Regions from separate parts of the Homo sapiens genome. Here region 1 is linked to region 2. The links are contacts of gene promoters, found by promoter capture Hi-C in blood cells and fetal thymus (Javierre and others, 2016). All regions are on one chromosome and are shown on one strand. Each heading gives the region's core, a stretch centred on a gene start or on the middle of the fragment in contact. The rest is flanking DNA. Distances are from core to core; before and after follow the strand shown. Region 1 overlaps POLE (DNA polymerase epsilon, catalytic subunit). Region 2 holds the start of DDX51 (DEAD-box helicase 51).

What was found. The method cuts DNA at HindIII sites, captures the fragments that hold promoters and counts their contacts. A CHiCAGO score of 5 or more calls a contact.
Region 1: a fragment that was not itself captured here is called in contact with the fragment with the promoter of DDX51 in region 2 in 1 of 17 cell types (M0 macrophages); the score reaches 6.0 in M0 macrophages.

The regions. Positions count from the first base shown.
Region 1 is chr12:132,646,457-132,651,012 of GRCh38, reverse strand. It overlaps POLE (DNA polymerase epsilon, catalytic subunit), which reads left to right. Exons shown (of 49, transcript NM_006231.4): 30 at 1,124-1,336; 31 at 1,498-1,707; 32 at 1,941-2,084. Among named protein-coding and RNA genes, the nearest start is that of P2RX2, 30 kb to the right of the region's middle. The HindIII fragment of the contact is 6,987 bases long and covers 1-4,556 here.
Region 2 is chr12:132,141,701-132,145,873 of GRCh38, reverse strand. It overlaps DDX51 (DEAD-box helicase 51), which reads left to right and starts at 1,555. Exons shown (of 15, transcript NM_175066.4): 1 at 1,555-1,881; 2 at 1,965-2,179; 3 at 2,996-3,146; 4 at 3,452-3,597; 5 at 3,684-3,755; 6 at 3,918-4,024. The coding sequence starts at 1,578. NOC4L (nucleolar complex associated 4 homolog) reads right to left here and starts at 1,417. Exons shown (of 15, transcript NM_024078.3): 1 at 1,269-1,417; 2 at 900-1,020; 3 at 209-315. The coding sequence starts at 1,385. RefSeq lists enhancers at 1,335-1,634, 2,564-3,469 and silencers at 1,645-1,694, 1,765-1,964. The HindIII fragment of the contact is 30,339 bases long and covers 1-4,173 here.

The sequences.
Region 1 (4,556 bases), core at 319-2,818, 510 kb before region 2:
GTAATCCTAGCTTCTTGGGAGGCTGAGGCAGAATTGCTTGAACCCAGGAGGCGAGGTTGCAGTGAGATGAGATCGTGCCATTGCGCTCCAGCCTGGACAACAGAGTGAGATTCTGTCTCAAAAAAAAAAAAAAAAAAAAAGGAAACAAGTTGCAGTCAGATGTGTCCCACATGTTACTATTTAGGTTAAAACTTACAGCTGTGGCATGTGTCTGTGGACATGTGGTAAAAATTTAAAGGTGTGTGGGGGCAGACAGAAGAGGGCTGTACCCATTATTTGCAATATTTTCTTTCTTACAAAAAGCATTCTGGAGCAAACATGGCAAAATGCAAAGATTTACTTATTGGTGGTATTGAGTGACGTTTTATTTTTCGGTTTGATCTTTTCACTTTTTTTTTGAAAGAGGGTCTCACCCTCTCGCCCAGGCTGGAATGCAGTGGCGCAACCTTGGCTCACTGCAACCCCTACCTCCTAGGCTCAAGTGATCCTTCCACCTCAGCCTCCCAAGTAGCTGGGACCACAGGCCCACACAACCACACCCAGCTAATTTTTCTATTTTTTGTAGAGACGGAGTTTCACCATGTTGGCCAGGCTAGTCTCAAACTCCTGGGCTCAAGTGATCCGCCCACCTCAGCCTCTCAAAGTGCTGGGATGACAGGCGTGAGCCACCACACCCGGCCTTCACTATTAAAGGTTCAATAAACTTGTGTAAACGAACATCCCATTTCAGGTGATATACTTATACTAGATTTCGAGAAGTAGAATTTGTGGGGATGAGATCCTGAGATTTTTGTTTGCTTGTTTTTATGAGGCAAGGTCTCACTTGCCCAGGCTGGAGTTCAGTGGTGTGATCATAGTTCGCCGCAGCCTCCAACTCCTGGGTTCAAGTGATCCTCCTGCCTCAGCCTACCAAGTAGCTTGGGACTACAGGCGCACTACCACGCCTGGCTAATTTGTAATATATTTTGTAGAGACAGGGTCTTGCTGTTACCCAGGCTGGTCTCAAACTCCTGGCCCCAAGCAATTCTCCTGTCTTGGCCTCCCAAAGTGCTGGCATTCCAGGCATGAGCCACCCTGCGCAGCCCGAGATCCTGAGATTTAAGGCTTCACTGGGTCTTTCCAGGTCACGATGGCCGAGGCCTCAGAAGACAGTCCGAGGCCAAGTGCTCCTGACATGGAGGACTTCGGCCTCGTAAAGCTGCCTCACCCAGCAGCCCCTGTCACTGTGAAGAGGAAGCGAGTTCTTTGGGAGAGCCAGGAGGAGTCCCAGGACCTCACGCCGACTGTGCCCTGGCAGGAAATCTTGGGGCAGCCTCCCGCCCTGGGAACCAGCCAGGTAAGGCACACAGCTGTGATACTGTCTGTCTCTGAGGGGTCTGCACAGCCCAGGGAGCCCGAGATGCGTCCTGACCCCTAGGGAGGCTGCTTGTGAGAAAGTCATGGCGGGCATTCCCATCTCACCACTTGCACACTGGCTGTGCTCACCATCCATCCCAGGAGGAATGGCTTGTCTGGCTCCGGTTCCACAAGAAGAAGTGGCAGCTGCAGGCCCGGCAGCGCCTCGCCCGCAGGAAGAGGCAGCGTCTGGAGTCGGCAGAGGGTGTGCTCAGGCCCGGGGCCATCCGGGATGGTCCTGCCACGGGGCTGGGGAGCTTCTTGCGAAGAACTGCCCGCAGCATCCTGGACCTTCCGTGGCAGATTGTGCAGGTATAGACCTTGATCCAAGGGGAGGGCAGTGGCTCTGCTGATGGCCCAGGGAGGGGGTGTCCAGCTGGGCCCTGAGGTCTGGGATGGGAGGGTTAGAGTGGGCCTGGAGTTTCCTGCCCATCGTAGGGAGGCCTAAGGCCCTGTGCTGGGAGCTGCAAGCTACCTGGAAGGTGGCCCCGTCTGTGGGTTCCAGTGTGTCCTGTGATGTGCTGTATGTCCGTGTGGCCTTTCAGATCAGCGAGACCAGCCAGGCCGGCCTGTTCAGGCTGTGGGCGCTCGTTGGCAGTGACTTGCACTGCATCAGGCTGAGCATCCCCCGTGTGTTCTACGTGAACCAGCGAGTCGCTAAAGCGGAGGAGGGTGCTTCGTATCGCAAGGTAGGGAGGAGCTGGTGCTGCCTCTGCAGTCATCTGGGCAGCCTGAGGTGGCTTTCCCATGATCTAGCCTGGCCTCCAGCCTCCATCTCCTCAGTACCTTATGGGGATGTTCTAGGAATTCCTCAAAACAACGTGTGTGAGCGCTGAGCACCGAGCCTGGGGCAGAGCGAGTGCCGGGAATGGAGCTGCTGGTGTCCTTGTCACGATGAGCTTGTCTGCCCGCGAGGTCCATGTTGCGGGGACAAACCAAGTGGCATTGGTTAGAGATTGTGAACTCTGTCTCCGTAGGCTCTTTGGTTGTTAACAGCTTTATTGGGATGTAAAGTTACGCCATCCAACTCACCCATTTAAAGTGCAGAATTCAATGACTTTTAGTGGCATGACTATTGCCAGTCAATAGTGACATTTTCTTTTTTTTTCTTTTTTTTAATTTTACTTTGATTTCTGGGATCCATGTGCAGAAAGTGCAGGTTTGTTACATAAGTAAGCACATGCCATGGTGGTTTGCTGCACCCATCACCCCGTCACCTGGGCATTAGGCCCCACATGCATTAGCTGTTTATCCTGATATTCCCCCTCCCCTCACCCCCCCATTCGGATATTTTCATCACTCCAAAAAGAAACCTGGCATCCCTTACCTGTCACCATCCTCCCCCAGCCCTCAGTAGCCACTGATCCACTTCCTGTCTCTGGGTTTGCCTGTTTGGGCATTTGATGTAAATGGAACCCTACAGTAGGTGGGTCTTTGTGCTGGGCTTCTTCCACCTGCAGAAACTGCGAGGGTTTTCATGTGGCCATGAGTGCGCTGAGGCTCTTAGATGGCATCTCCACCCGAACTCCCCGTTGTTAATGTGTCGGCTCAGCACATTTCTTGACTGGATGCTGTGAATCACGTAAGAAGTGACACGTAGTTGGGGAGATGAGGTGTGCATATTTGTACCTACACAAGGAGGTTTTCTGGAGAAGGTGAAACTCGATTCCAGCCAGGTGATTCAGTAGAATGTGCATATAGAAAGTAGACGCAGAGCCAGGTGTGGTGGTTCACACCTGTAATCCCCGCACTTTGGGAGACCGAGGTGGGCGGATAACAAGAGGAAAGCGGACGCAGAGGCATCGAGACCACAGAGAACAGGTGGGACTGTGGGGTTTCTACACCTTCCTTTCGATGCGTGGTGCTGTGGTGCTGTGGCCGTGTGGAAGTGCCCTAACTTTTGGGATGTTTCCCTTTATGACTATCAGCTCATCTCGAGGGAGGTTCTGGCGCTGTGTGAATATTCTGTCCTCAACGTTTGACTGGATGGTGTCAGCATCCATGTCTCGTGGGGTCCATGGGGCTCCAGGATGATATCTTCAGATTCTGTTCCTCTGTGTGTATTAGCTGTTTCCTTTATAACGAAGAGCTTTGTGCAGATCAGGTAGAAATGAACTCTATTCCTTAAAAAGCAAGATACGAGAGGGATAATACGCTTTTTTTTTTTTTAAGCAAGATAAATGCTTTTTCCCTTTAAATTATTTTTAATTTTCAAGGTAGGGCATGGCAAAATGGGTTTATTCCTTTCATTTTTCCTCTCTTTTTAAAGTATTACTATGGATTAGAGGATTTTTGTTTAACTTTTTTGTTTCTGTTTTTGAGAAGGTCTCTCACTCCATCACCCAGGCTGGAGTGCAGTGGCATGATCTTGCCTCACTGCAGCCTTGTACTCTTGGGCTCAAGCAATCCTCCTGCCTCAGTGTTTAATGTTTTAACATCAACCGTAGCCAAATCCCGCCCAACACACACACGTTAGGTATGTTAAGGTACACGGTAGGCCCTCACTTTATGTTGTTGATAGGTCCTTAGAAACTGCAATTTTAAGTGAAATGACTAAGTAAGATGATGTATAATGAAACAGATTTTTTTTCTTCTCAGAAACTATAATGAAACTGTGTTGGCCAGGCGCAGTGCTGCATATCTGTAATCCCAGCAATTTGGGAGGCTGAGGCTGGTGGATTGCTTGAGCTCAGGCATTCGAGACCAGCCTGGGCAACGTGGCAAAACCCCTTCTCTACAGAGTATTTTTTAAATTTATTTATTTTTATTTGTTTGTTTGTTTGTTTTGAGATGGAGTTTCTCTCCTGTTGCCCGGCTGGAGTCCAGTGGCGCATCTCGGCTCACCGCAACCTCCGCCTCCCGGGTTCAAGAAATTCTCCTGCCTCAGCCTCCCAAGTAGCTGGGATTACAGGCACGCACCACCACGCCCGGCTAATTTTGTATTTTTTAGTAGAGATGGGGTTTCTCTGTGTTGGTTAGGCTGGTCTCGAACTCCTGACCTCAGGTAATCCATCCACCTCGGCCTCCCAAAGTGCTGGGATTACAGGTTGAACCATGGCGCCCGGCCCCAGAATTTTTTTTTTTTTTTTTTTAAAGGAAGAAAGAATGTTGAACAAAATGATGTTATTTGAGGACCTGCTATACATTACTTCACTTAACCA
Region 2 (4,173 bases), core at 306-2,805:
AATGAACACGGATTCTGCGTCTTCAATATTCACTACAGGACTCGATAGCCATGTTTCTGAATGGGACTGAACACCCACAGGGTGATGCTCCCATGAAGGAAGCAGCTTTGCCTGGACAATTGTGGGAGCCCCAGACCTCTGCTTTGTGGATAACCTGGGAGTTGGGGTGCAGGGGATGGACAAGGATGAGGCCAGCCCAATGACCCACCTTGACCTGAAAGGAGGGGTGGCCCAGGAGCTCTCCCAAGCGATTGCAGCAGCTGTGATAGCGGTGTCTCATCCACACCTTGTACTTCCGTGTGGCTCCCTGGGACCCTGCAGACAGGTTAGGGTGGTCAGCCCACGTGAGGCCCACATACGCCACCCTGGGCCCAGCCCAAAATCTCAGGCCTGGCTCCACCCTCCCATTGTCTTCTACTCAGCCTCCGCAGGTGGAAACAGGTCGCTAAGGCCCCCAGACCTGTGCTGAGACCAGCACATTCCCTGAGCCCTGCAAACAGGAAGAGCACCTCCTACCCCAGGACTGCCCCAGCCAAGCTGCCAGGAGCAGGATCCACATCCCCTCTCTTTACTCCAAGACCTGACGTCCCCAGGATGGGGACATAAAGGAAGCTCCGAGTTTAAGCGACCGTGTCAGGATCAGTCAACATCAAATTACAAAAGGGGTGCAAAGCACACAAAAAGTCGTACCTTGTCCAGTGTTCATCTACACTCAGCTGCAGGGCACCCATGTCACCCCTGCCCCAACGCCACCATCCATCTTCCACGGTGGGCTTGGTGCGTCCTCCCACCAGCCTGCACGGCCTGTGCCAGGGTTGGGGGCGCTCATCCCATGGTGACAAAGCCTCCCTCCGACCCACGGAAAGAGAAGAGCAGCCCCGGGGCCCTCCAGGGCTCACCTGTCATGACCATCTCCTCAGAGGGCAGCTGGCCCACAAACAGCTCTCCCCGCTCCAGCAAGGCCCCGAAAAGACGGCTGCACGTGCGGACTGCTTCCTGGATCTCCTCCTGGTCCTCAGACTGCAGGAGAGGCGGCGGCAGGGTGCCCGGCCGCCAACTGTCACCTTCGCCCCTGCCTAGGCTGCCCCCAACCCGTTCCCTTCCCCCTCGGGACGCCAGCCCCGTCACCCCCGACCCGTGACCCACACGCCTCCCACCCTGACCCCCCAACGCCGTCTCGGAACCTCCTGGGGACCTGCCGCCGCAGCCCCCCATTCAAGTCCCGCTCCCGTGCCGCGACTCCGGCCCTGCGACGCCGCCAGGCCCACCTGCAGCACGGCCAGGATGTCGAACACGGCGTTGGCCTCACTGCGGCTCGCCAGCACCGCCTCCAGCCGGCGGCCCAGAGCCCGGCGAACTCCCGCGGCGCCCGGCTCCCGCTCCATGCCGCCCCCAACACGGAACAACGCGGATTCTCAGCCGCCGGCGCTCCCGTGACGTCACCACTGCGCGTAGAACCCGACGTCATCTCTACGCGCCGTACCCCAACCCCATCTTTTGCGCGGAGCCCGAGTCGCAGGCGTGCCGCCGACGTCATCGCAGCGCGCCACGCCCGAGTCCCAGGCGTGCGGCTGGCCATGGCGCTGTTCTACGTCGCGCGGTACCCGGGCCCCGATGCGGCAGCTGCGGCGGGGCCGGAGGGCGCGGAGGCCGGGGCGCACGGCAGGGCCCGCGCGCTGCTCGAGCGGCTGCAGAGCCGGGCCCGCGAACGGCAGCAGCAGCGGGAGCCCGCGCAGACCGAGGCGGCTGCATCGACCGAGCCGGCGACCAGGAGGCGACGGCGGCCCCGGCGGCGGCGGCGGGTGAACGACGCGGAGCCGGGGAGCCCGGAGGCGCCGCAGGGAAAGCGACGGAAGGCGGACGGCGAGGACGCGGGCGCAGGTGGGCCGCGGGGCGAGCGGGCTCCCTCTGGGGCGCCGGCGACTCGGTGCTGACGCGCTGCCGGGTGGGTGTCTGCCTCGCAGAAAGCAACGAGGAGGCGCCAGGGGAGCCCAGCGCAGGGAGCAGCGAGGAGGCGCCAGGGGAGCCCAGCGCAGGGAGCAGCGAGGAGGCGCCGGGGGAGCGCAGCACCAGCGCCAGCGCCGAGGCGGCCCCAGATGGACCGGCCCTGGAGGAGGCGGCCGGACCCCTGGTCCCCGGCCTGGTGCTGGGGGGGTTCGGGAAGAGGAAGGCGCCGAAGGTGAGCCTCGGCGGGCGGGAGGGTGGTCGGCGTGAGAGGGTAGGCTGCGCGGATTCTTAAGTGCGGCGGTCGCCCCGGAAGATTTCGTTCAGCGAATGTTCCCGGGTCACAGCCGCGCCTCGCTGCCAGGTCTGCAGTTTCATCGCCTAGGGGTCTGGATCCTGCACGTGCAGAGCTCCCGTTTCCTCTGCTAGGCTTGCCCCTGTCCTCCCGCCGCGCCGCGCCAGTTCTGCAAGATGTGTTTGCGTGAACGTGCGGGGTTTCCTGCTGTGCGCTCACCGCCTCAGGAGTAAGTCAGAGGCCGTTCTGCAAGCTCCTGACCGTTGGTGTTTTTGCTTAGCACGTGTGGTTTTCGGTAAAGAGATTTCCGGCGAGACAGGTGAAGAAAGCGAGAAGTTTGACAGAGTGCTCGGGCACCTTAGGTAGGGCAGGTGGAGGAGGTTCTCTTTGAGTTGGGATGCAAAGACTTGAAGCCAGGTCAAGGTTGGGGGTTGGGGGTGCCAGGCAGAGGCCTCGAGGCAGGGACGCCGGCGTGGCTGGGGCAGGCGAGCGCCAGGTCACAGGACCTCCTGGCTGCGGGAGGGTGGGTGCCACTGTGGGTTGATGGGAGGCTACAGAGTGAGTTTGCTCAGGGAGTGGCATCTGCTTTTACTGTTTAACTTCTGAAGGCTGTATGGAAAGCGCATCCTGGGGCTGAGAAGGAGCTGAAGACGACAGAGGTTTCCCCAGCCTCCCTCCCCTAGCTTTTTCCACCGTGGGCTTCTGCGCGAGAGCCTGGAAAGCGCTCACCTGGCCTCTCTTTCTTTTTGATGGCAGGTCCAGCCTTTCCTGCCAAGGTGGCTGGCTGAGCCTAACTGTGTCAGAAGGAATGTCACCGAAGACCTGGTTCCTATCGAGGACATCCCTGACGTCCATCCTGACCTGCAGAAGCAGCTGCGGGCACACGGCATCTCGTCCTACTTTCCAGGTGCCCCAGCCCCGGGCAGGCAGCTGAGGGAACACCTCCCTGGGCACCCACACACAAGGCTGTGAGTGGCCGTGGGTCAGGCGTCCCTGCCACATCGGTGCCAAGTGTGGTCTCAGCACTCTCAAGCTCATGGTTCCCACTTGGGTCTCCTGAGGCTGGCGTTCCTCTGGGCCTTGGTGCCATCCCTCTGGGGAGCGGTTCCCAGGCCTCCAGCAGAGCAGCCCAGCCCAGAGGTCACAGGCAGGGAAGCGGCAGGCCTAGGCCTAGGCGTAAACACGACTTCTCTCTCGCCTTTCCTCATCCAGTCCAGGCAGCTGTGATTCCTGCCCTCCTGGAGAGCGCAGCCTGTGGGTTTCTGGTGGGCAGAGGTGGCTACCGGCCTAGCGACCTCTGTGTTTCTGCCCCAACAGGCAGTGGGAAGACACTGGCCTTCGTCATCCCTGTGGTGCAGGTCTGTGTGAGGGTCCCCTTTCTCTACAGCGGGTGTGCAGAGGACAGGTAACAGCCTTGCTGACGCAGGCGCTCCTTCCCCCTCAGGCCCTGCTTTCGAGAGTGGTCTGCCACATCCGTGCCCTGGTTGTGCTGCCCACCAAGGAGCTGGCCCAGCAGGTATGTGGACCCTAGACCTGGAGCGTGGCACCGCCCGCCTCAGCTTCCCTGCTGAGTGCACAGCGATCAGCCCCTGGGGGACCCAGATTAGATCTGGGGTCCTTTTTGCTGCAGTAGGTGGACACCAGCTACCTCCAGGCCAGTGACAGACTTCTCCTGCAGGTGAGCAAAGTTTTCAACATCTACACAGATGCCACACCTCTGAGAGTCTCCCTGGTTACGGGACAGAAGTCTCTGGCCAAGGAGCAGGAGAGCCTCGTCCAGAAAACGTAGGTTGTGTCAGGGTGCGGGTTTTTCAGGGGGTCCCTGCTCAGCCCTGCAGGTGGCCTGAGGCACCGTGGGAGCAGAGGAGGGGCCACCATCTTTAACCACCTGTTCCCGTGAAGAGGAGGAGCTCCCACCGGCCCCCTTCCCATGT